3 separate regions of the Homo sapiens genome follow, and regions 1 and 2 are each linked to region 3. The links are contacts of gene promoters, found by promoter capture Hi-C in blood cells and fetal thymus (Javierre and others, 2016). All regions are on one chromosome and are shown on one strand. Each heading gives the region's core, a stretch centred on a gene start or on the middle of the fragment in contact. The rest is flanking DNA. Distances are from core to core; before and after follow the strand shown.

Region 1 (2,700 bases), core at 188-2,687, 230 kb before region 3:
CTGGGAATGTTCCAGAAGCAGAAGTGGTAGAAAGGCAGAGGAACCACATCTCCCTTTTATAAGATAACTCTTACGGCAGCATGGAGGATAAGTTTAAAGACAGTGAATGGAGGAACAAAGACCAATCAGGAACTCATTTTAATAGTCTAAGTGGGCGAAGAAGACCAAAAATAGCGCAGTAACAGTCAAAACTGAAATGAAGGAACTGGGAAACACTTTAGAATTGGTAGGACTTGAGAAACTACACTTTGAAGTTGAGGGAATATGGTGTAAGAAATGCATTCAGTTTTCTAAATGGTATAAGTTTAATATTTATAAAACAAACATGGTATATCATGGGGTTAAATGTGATTTTTCTGGTTAATTCAGCTCCAAAAGCTTAAGAACAGTATAATAGGCGTCAAGTTGACCAATGCCTTCAACGCAAGGTACTAGACCACACAGGCAACGCGTGCTAAAAGACTATAAAATTGGTTTTGCCAGCATTAGTGCATCACATTCACTCCCTGCTCCAACATGCTCACGAAGCATATGGGGAAGAGGAAGGGAAAGTGTTTCACCCCACCACCACCAATGCCCTGTCCGCAGCACAAGTGAGGAGGACGTTAAGGGAACCATTTAGAGAGCTTTACAGGTAGCCCCTGGAGTCCGAATGATGCAGAAACTGATACTTCATTCCACTGAAGACACAGAGGTGTGACTAGGTAGACATTCGGACAGCAGAAAAGAGAGATGCTCTGTTGGCTTGATGTGCACTTTCAGAGTCTAGTGGGGACAAAGGATGAGTGAGTTTCCCAGAAGCCCATTGTGGACCCTGTTTCATCTTAAAAGGGACTGAATCTGGAGAAGGAAAGGCCCAGAACCTGTAGGTGAGAGATCCCCAGTGATGTGGAGATTCTGATGTACCCATAAAAGCACCCCAGCAGAGAATCAACATTTGGAATCAGCCACACCATGAAAACAGCGATGCTAGATTATAACTAATGTTTGTGCCGGCAAATGTTGAACAACTGGCTGTCTGAAAAAACTGCATGTATAAATATATGTGTGTGTGTGTATGTATATATACATAGGTTTATTATAAATTTTATTGAAAGGTGTATAGCAAATATTTTACAAATAATAATATGCAATACTCTTTATTGTAAATTCCATATAGCCAGCTGATTCTACAGAATCCTTTCATTGATTTTTGCTTGTATTACCCAAACTATGACAGCAATTGATGAGTGTAGTTTGAATGTTGATTGACTTTTCTATTTACATTAACTAGTAAGATGGAAGTGAAACAAAGGAACAATAGGTTGCAATTTCACTTGTTTGTCTGATATTAGTGAGTTCTTTGCTAAATTGAATAGCAGCTCTCTGAAAAAAGAATTTCTTCAGTTTTTTTGTGCTATTCACAGTGTACTACAATCTACCACAACAGACATGACACTCTTTTAATTTCATTATTAACATTCTCTCCATCAGTTTTTTTAAATGAGTCTCCATCTATTTTGTGTTTCTTTAACTTTTAAGTTCAGGGGTACATGTACAGGATGTGAAGGTTTGTTACATAGGTAAACATGTGTCATGGGGGGTTTGTTGTACTGATTATTTCATCACCCAGGTATTAAGCCCAGTATCCATTAATTACTTTTCCTGATCCTCTCCCTCCTCCTACCTCCACCCTCAGACAGGCCCAGTGTGTGATGTTTCCCTCTGTGTGTCCATGCTGTTCTCATCATTTAGCTCCCACTTATAAGTGAGAACATACGGTATTTGGTTTTCTGTTCCTGTGTTAGTTTGCTAAGGATAATGGCCTCCAGCTCCATCCATGTCAGTGTAAAGGGCATAATTTGATTCCTTTTTATGGCTGCATAGTATTCCATGGTGTATATGTACCACATTGTCTTTATCCAGTCTATCATTGATGGGCATTTGGGTTGATCCCATGTCTTTGCTATTGTCCACCACCTTTTTAACTCTAAAAAATCAACAATAAAATAAATCAAACTCTGGTTTGTATAATCTGCCATTTTCCATGGTGTAAATACTCCTATTACGGCCAATTTCAAGATCAACATGACGTCGCTGAATGAGGCAGTAGGAAGAAATGTATAGTAGCCCACCATTATATTTTTACCTGTAGATACAATAGATGTAAATAACCTCAAGAGTAGAGATAATAGCAAAAGAGTTAGGAAATAAGAAGTTTTGAATATTTATTACCTTTGTCTTAATATAACTTATTTGATTATGTTTATACAATTTAGTGTTTAACAATAGCTGTGTTAACAATCAGCTCACACAAATCCTAAAATTTTAACAATCAGCTCTCACAGATTCACAGTTGTACCACACCACTGATTCATAGATATAGGAAGACAGCCTGCGGTATGGCAAGAATGACACCACGGCCATGATGACTGATGTTGGATTCCTGCATACTAAGGTGTTCTGCAGCAAGGTCCTTAAACAATGCCCATAGCATAGATAACCCTTCAAAAGAAACAAAGCTTGTAACTTAGATAATTCTCTCATTAAGATTCTTATCTAGACTCCCCAGTGTTCATGAGTTTTGCAAGAAAGTCTGAGACATGATCAGCTGTACATCTTTTATCCTAAAAGCTTACATAATTTCTGGAGGGCAGGTGTGGGGATGCACTGTAACAGAATCATCATTTCTGTGTGTAAGTCCCTATTAAATACCTCTTT
Region 2 (2,826 bases), core at 240-2,739, 180 kb before region 3:
ACAGTTTTGTGCCACATAATATTTTGGTCGGTGATGGACCACGTATATGCCAGTGGTCCCAAGAGATTATATAATACCATATATTTTTTTTTGAGACGGAGTCTCGCTGTCACCCAGGTTATAATACCATATTTTTACTGTACTTACTCTATGTTTAGATACACAAATACTTAACCATGTGTTACAGCTGCCTGCAGTATGCAGTACAGTAACACGCTGTACAGATTGGTAGCCTAGGATCAATAGGCTATAACATATCACCTAGGAGACTATACCATCTAGGTTTATGTAAGTACACTTTGATGTTTGCACAATGACAAAATCACCTAGTGATGCATTTCTCAGAACGTATCTCTGTCACTAGGCATTATGACTGTATTAGCCTATAAAGGTTTACAAAACAACAAACTCACCACTGTCTTTACAGCAGTTATCGCACATTTTGTTACATGCTTCTGAGTTCCATACTTCATCAAAATGTTGAGCCATCAACACACGACGACATCTGCAAACACATTTAAAGATACAAATTATTAAAGGATATAATAAAGTTTTAAGAATCTCTATTTCAGCTTACATAGTTATATACTGTATTAGCTTCCTATAACTGCCATAATATTACCATAAACTTAGTGGCTTTAAACACATTTATTCTTACATTTCTGTGGTTTAGATTTAGAAGTGTACTATGGGTTTCACTGGATCAAAATCAGAGTGTCAGGTTCTTCTCACATCACACAATCTAAAATAATCTCCCTATTTTAAGGTCAGCTAATGAACAGTCTTAATTCCATGTGCAATGCTACTTTCCTTTTGCCATGTGAGGTAACATACAGGTTAGGAATTAGGACGTGAACATCTTTGGGGGGCCATTGTGCCCCCGACATAGGACTTTTTTCCCCACATATTCTTGATAAACACTGTTTAAAAAATTGTCTGAGTTCCATTTTTAAATTCAATGTTTTGCAACTATTAGGAGAATATTCTTGACAGTAAAATAGTTTCTTATATTTTAATAAAGTAGCAATATTTGAGTTGAAACCTTAAAATATGCTTCATGAGACTCTACTGGCCTTTGGAAGACATTTTCATTTTCTCATTTCTTTTAACTAGATTATTGTAGTATCTATTGGAAAGAAAGAACATTTCTATCACTGTCTGGCTGCTATTTACCACCTCGACATTTCTGAGCACTTCTTATGTGATAGGCAATAAAAGCACAAAGATAACTATGACAGAAAGCTTTCAGGAAGCTATCTAGTCTAAAGCCACCCTAAGTAGATTTAAACTTACTTCTTAAGGAGAAACTTGGTATTTCATTGACACATGAGCTGGCAAGGTGGCACGTTACTGAGCTTGACTCTCAAAATGCCTATCTTAACCATAGACCTTTTCAAAATTATTAAATCATGTAACTGTACAGCAGTGCCAGAGAAAAAAAGCCTTCAAGTTGCTATCAATGTGTCTCAAAAACCTTCAATTAAAAAAGTAGTTTTGGAGGATTATCTCAAAGATAGGGCATCTTTTCTTGAACTAAGGCAGATCATACAGGTTGATGTGCTGGTTCCTACCCTCCAACATCTGCTTTTATGGATCTGCACTTTGGTGTTCCACCAATGTATTTAGTAAGAACTTAAAAACGATGTCATATACTTTCATATTTGCTTTAATTGATAAAAGTTATAAAAAGGTATGTGGCTTACTTGCTTATGTTTTGACAGTATGATACCATCTCATAAAGCTTCTGCTGTCCCACATTTTCCATCACCACCATTGAACTTATTCTGAATATATCTCCAAAGCCGTAGTACAAAATACAGTCTGCTTTCATGTCATCTCGACCTGTGGTGTGAGAAACCTTGAGATTGCAGAATTACATTTACAAATTCAAAATATGCAAAAATGACATATGGTAAAATTAGCAGGCAATGTTTTATACTACATCTAGAAATTTTAGAGATGTGGAAGTTAATTTGTAATGGGTACCCTCAAATTAAAAAAAACTCTAAAGAGACATCAATAATCAGCTCTACTAAGTTAAAAAATGTGTCTATAATCCAGTTAAGTTATAGATTTGAAATCACTAATTAAAAATTCAGGAGGCAAAGATGAACATCAAATTATCTTAACACACATAAAAAGAAACAATTCAGATAACAGAACATAAGTAAAAATTTCTCCATATGCAAGTAAGTGTCAAACTGCTAAAAATACATTGTTCTAAAAATACTATCCAATAAAGATAAAACATACAGACTTATTAAGCATTTATCATGTATTTTTTGGAAAAGCTTTCTAAAAATTTACTTCTGGATTTGAGTCCTACATACCTGCACGTCCACTCTCTTGGTAATAATTTTCCATGGATTTACTCATTGAATGATGGATAACAAACCTCACATCTGGCTTATCAATTCCCATACCAAATGCAACAGTTGCCACTACTACCTGAAATATTTTAACATTTTATCAGTTAATTAAATCAAGTTTAAATATTTTAAAGGTAAATTAGGCTTCTATGGAAGATATAGACCTAACCTGAATTTCATTGGCTGACCATTTTCTATGAACTGTGGTCTTATCTTCTGGCTCCAAATTGGCATGGTAAGCACCTGCATGAATTCCCAGATTCTGCAAACTAACCGTAACTTGTTCAGAGTCTTTCTGAGAAAAACAATATATGATTCCTGCAGTAAAATATGTGCATTTGTTAGATAGATATGGCATATTCCTGGAAGATGGTTTTCAACACACACATTCAGGACATTGATTAATACAATGCACAGAAGGAAAAAAAGAATTATGAAAAATTTCAAGGCCTTGTGC
Region 3 (2,700 bases), core at 15-2,514:
AATACAGATTCGTTGTTCTGATAGACCTTTTAATTTAGAAAACTTCAGGAAGTACAATTTAAAGGCTCGAACCAGATTTTCTTTCAGATATTTCTGGAGAAAGTGCTTTTCTTCAATTTTTCCTTAAAAAGAGTTTTAAGAAATGAGAAGAAAATGGTCTGCATGATATACAGGCCTGTGCCAACATCAGAGTGCAGGCTGTAAGGAACAAGAACGACAAACGGTAAAAATCTCTGAGTCTTGGTCCCTTATGTCTCCTCACTGCTGTGGATATAAATCATTAGAAATAAAGGAGCGCCTTAATTTCAGGAACAAAGATCTTCTTTGCAGAATCTTTCTCACCGTAATCTTTTAAAAATTCAGGTTTTGCTTTTGAATTCCTCCCCTCCCCCCATTCCCCAGGCCCTTACTGCAGCTTGTACTGCTCGCGGTGCGCACAAACCATCTTTTCCTCAGGGCACCGGCAGCAAAGAACAGCAGATCACGAGGGCATGCAGAAGCTAGAGATCTCCCCGAGTAAGGTCTGTGGGGACAAGTCTAGGACTTCCTTACTCGGAGCACCCAAGGCTGGTAAAGTAAACGAAGCCCCTAAGCATCCAGAAAAGAGGCCCTGCAGGAAAGAACTGGCGCATGGCTCCTGGAAAGACCGTCAGAGCCGGGTAAAAATAAGTGCAGCGCCAAACGTGCTGGTCATCTAGGTGCCTTTCTCCTCATCCCAGCGAGTGCAAGGGCATTTCTCTATTACCGTGGCAATATATTCAAATATTCGAGGTAAAGATCGTCCAGCCTTCATAGGCCACCTGGTTCCGTCCCCCTCCCCCAGCTACTCGGGCACGTGTCCCGACTCCCGCCAGCAGGCCGTGGGGGTGATGTGGCCGCCATGAACCCACCAAGGACAAGTAGGGCCTGGTTTTAGCTGCAAATGCAACAAGTCTCTCCGCTGAGCCGCAGCTGCTACCCTCTGCCTTCTGCTCCTCCGCCAGGGCACGGCCCCCCCTGCGCCCCAAACTGAGCGGCAAAGTCAGGGCCCGCGGCCGGATGCTCAGAGCTAAAGGCCGCGGAGGACAGATGTGCTTCTTCCTCCTTCCCGCGTCTCCCCATACAAGTACTACCCCGCACGTCCCATCAGGCTTGCCTGTGGGCCAGGATTCAGGGTCCTGAGCCGAAACCTACCAGGAGAGAGAAGGCTCTGGAGACCTCTGTAACAGTCGTGCGGAGAAGACAAAGTCAGCTGCGTGCGTCTCCTCCGGCGCCGGCTCTGCAAGGAGGGAGGAGGGGGCGGGGCCCCACAACCACCGCAGCCTCTTAGGTTTCTCCATTGTGATTGGAAATCCGAGTACCGCCTACCCCTCCCCTCGGCTCGCTCAATCCCCTTCAAGGACAAGGGCTCAAGTATGCACACTCCCTCCCCCACCCTCCAGATGAGGAGGTCTCCTTCCAGAGGCTTCCGCTCTCAGCTGGTCTCACATCTCGCAGGCTCTTCAATGCGGAGGCCAAGTTATTTATAAAACTTGCCCATCCCCGACTCTTCTGGACTTTAACGCTCTTGTTCTATTAGATTTAGTACAAATAGAAATAAATTTCTTTCCTTCTTTTTTTTATTTTGAGACGGAGTCTCACTCTGTCGCCCAGGCTGGAGTGCAGTGGCGCGATCTCGGCTCACTGCAAGCTCCGCCTCCCGGGCTCACGACATTCTCCTGCCTCAGCCTCCCGAGTAGCTGGGACTACAGGCGCCCGCCACCTCGCCCGGCTAATTTTTTGTATTTTTAGTAGAGAGGGGGGTTTCACCGTGTTAGCCAGGATGGTCTCGATCTCCTGACCTCGTGATCCGCCCGCCTCGGCCTCCCAAAGTGCTGGGATTACAGGCCTGAGCCACCGCGCCCGGCCAGAAATAAATTTCTATGTTGCATTTCAGTTAAACTTTAAAGGACTTAAAAAAATACATCTGAATTTAGATCATCTCCGTTTTAAAGTTCATTTGATGAAAATGACTATTTTTTTCAACCTGTTTCAACAAACACGCAATGATTGCTTACTCGTTGCCTGACAAGACCAATGAGGCTTTGTCCCTGCCATCTGAAGTTCCCCTACAATTCCACCTGGTCTCAAGGTCAGGCTTTGCCCTCTAGGGGAAATGTGGGACCACTAAGTGAGATGCACTTTCTTTTTTAGTCCCTAATCGACTCCAAAGCTGGATGTTGTCATTCATTCTGTCTTCAACACTCAGCCAGTGCTTGGTACCTAAATATAGCATTGATGAATAAATGAATGAATGATAAATTGGAGGAATTCTGAAGAGTCTGGCTTCAGTTCTGTTTTCTTATAATTAAAATGCTTTCAAATATAGCCATCTCACAAACTTCCTGTATGTGAAGTGTTTTTTTTTGTAAATGCATATTTCTTGTATATGACCACTAATTCTATAATTATTGCTTCAGTTTATTCTCAGTGCCAAGCATTGGTAAAAAACATAAATATAAGATTATGCCCTTTGAGGTGTTCCTAGTCCATTGGAGACAGACAAGTAGGCAACCTATTTCAATTACAATAAGTGGCAATAGAAATTTGGTTAAAGTACAATAAAAATTCAGAGTAAAGAATCACTAAGAGAAGGGTTTGTTGAGAAGAATTCATAAGCCTCAAACTCTCCTAGCATAAATCATTCAGCTAGTGGGGACTTTGACTGAAGATACAGTCCAA

The links. The method cuts DNA at HindIII sites, captures the fragments that hold promoters and counts their contacts. A CHiCAGO score of 5 or more calls a contact.
Region 1: a contact is called between a fragment that was not itself captured here and the fragment with the promoter of LDHB in region 3, in 6 of 17 cell types (fetal thymus, total B cells, non-activated CD4 T cells and 3 more). The highest score is 7.8, in fetal thymus.
Region 2: a contact is called between a fragment that was not itself captured here and the fragment with the promoter of LDHB in region 3, in 2 of 17 cell types (fetal thymus and non-activated CD4 T cells). The highest score is 5.6, in fetal thymus.

Annotation. Positions count from the first base shown.
Region 1 is chr12:21,431,324-21,434,023 of GRCh38, forward strand. No RefSeq gene overlaps it. Among named protein-coding and RNA genes, the nearest start is that of PYROXD1, 5.0 kb to the right of the region's middle. The HindIII fragment of the contact is 2,123 bases long and covers 377-2,499 here.
Region 2 is chr12:21,473,138-21,475,963 of GRCh38, forward strand. RECQL (RecQ like helicase) reads right to left here. Exons shown (of 15, transcript NM_002907.4): 9 at 2,539-2,687; 10 at 2,331-2,448; 11 at 1,704-1,842; 12 at 414-505. Among named protein-coding and RNA genes, the nearest start is that of RECQL, 27 kb to the right of the region's middle. The HindIII fragment of the contact is 499 bases long and covers 1,241-1,739 here.
Region 3 is chr12:21,656,578-21,659,277 of GRCh38, forward strand. It overlaps LDHB (lactate dehydrogenase B), which reads right to left and starts at 1,265. Exons shown (of 8, transcript NM_002300.8): 1 at 1,174-1,265. RefSeq lists enhancers at 817-906, 937-1,186, 1,164-1,692, 1,567-1,746. The HindIII fragment of the contact is 8,571 bases long and covers 1-2,700 here.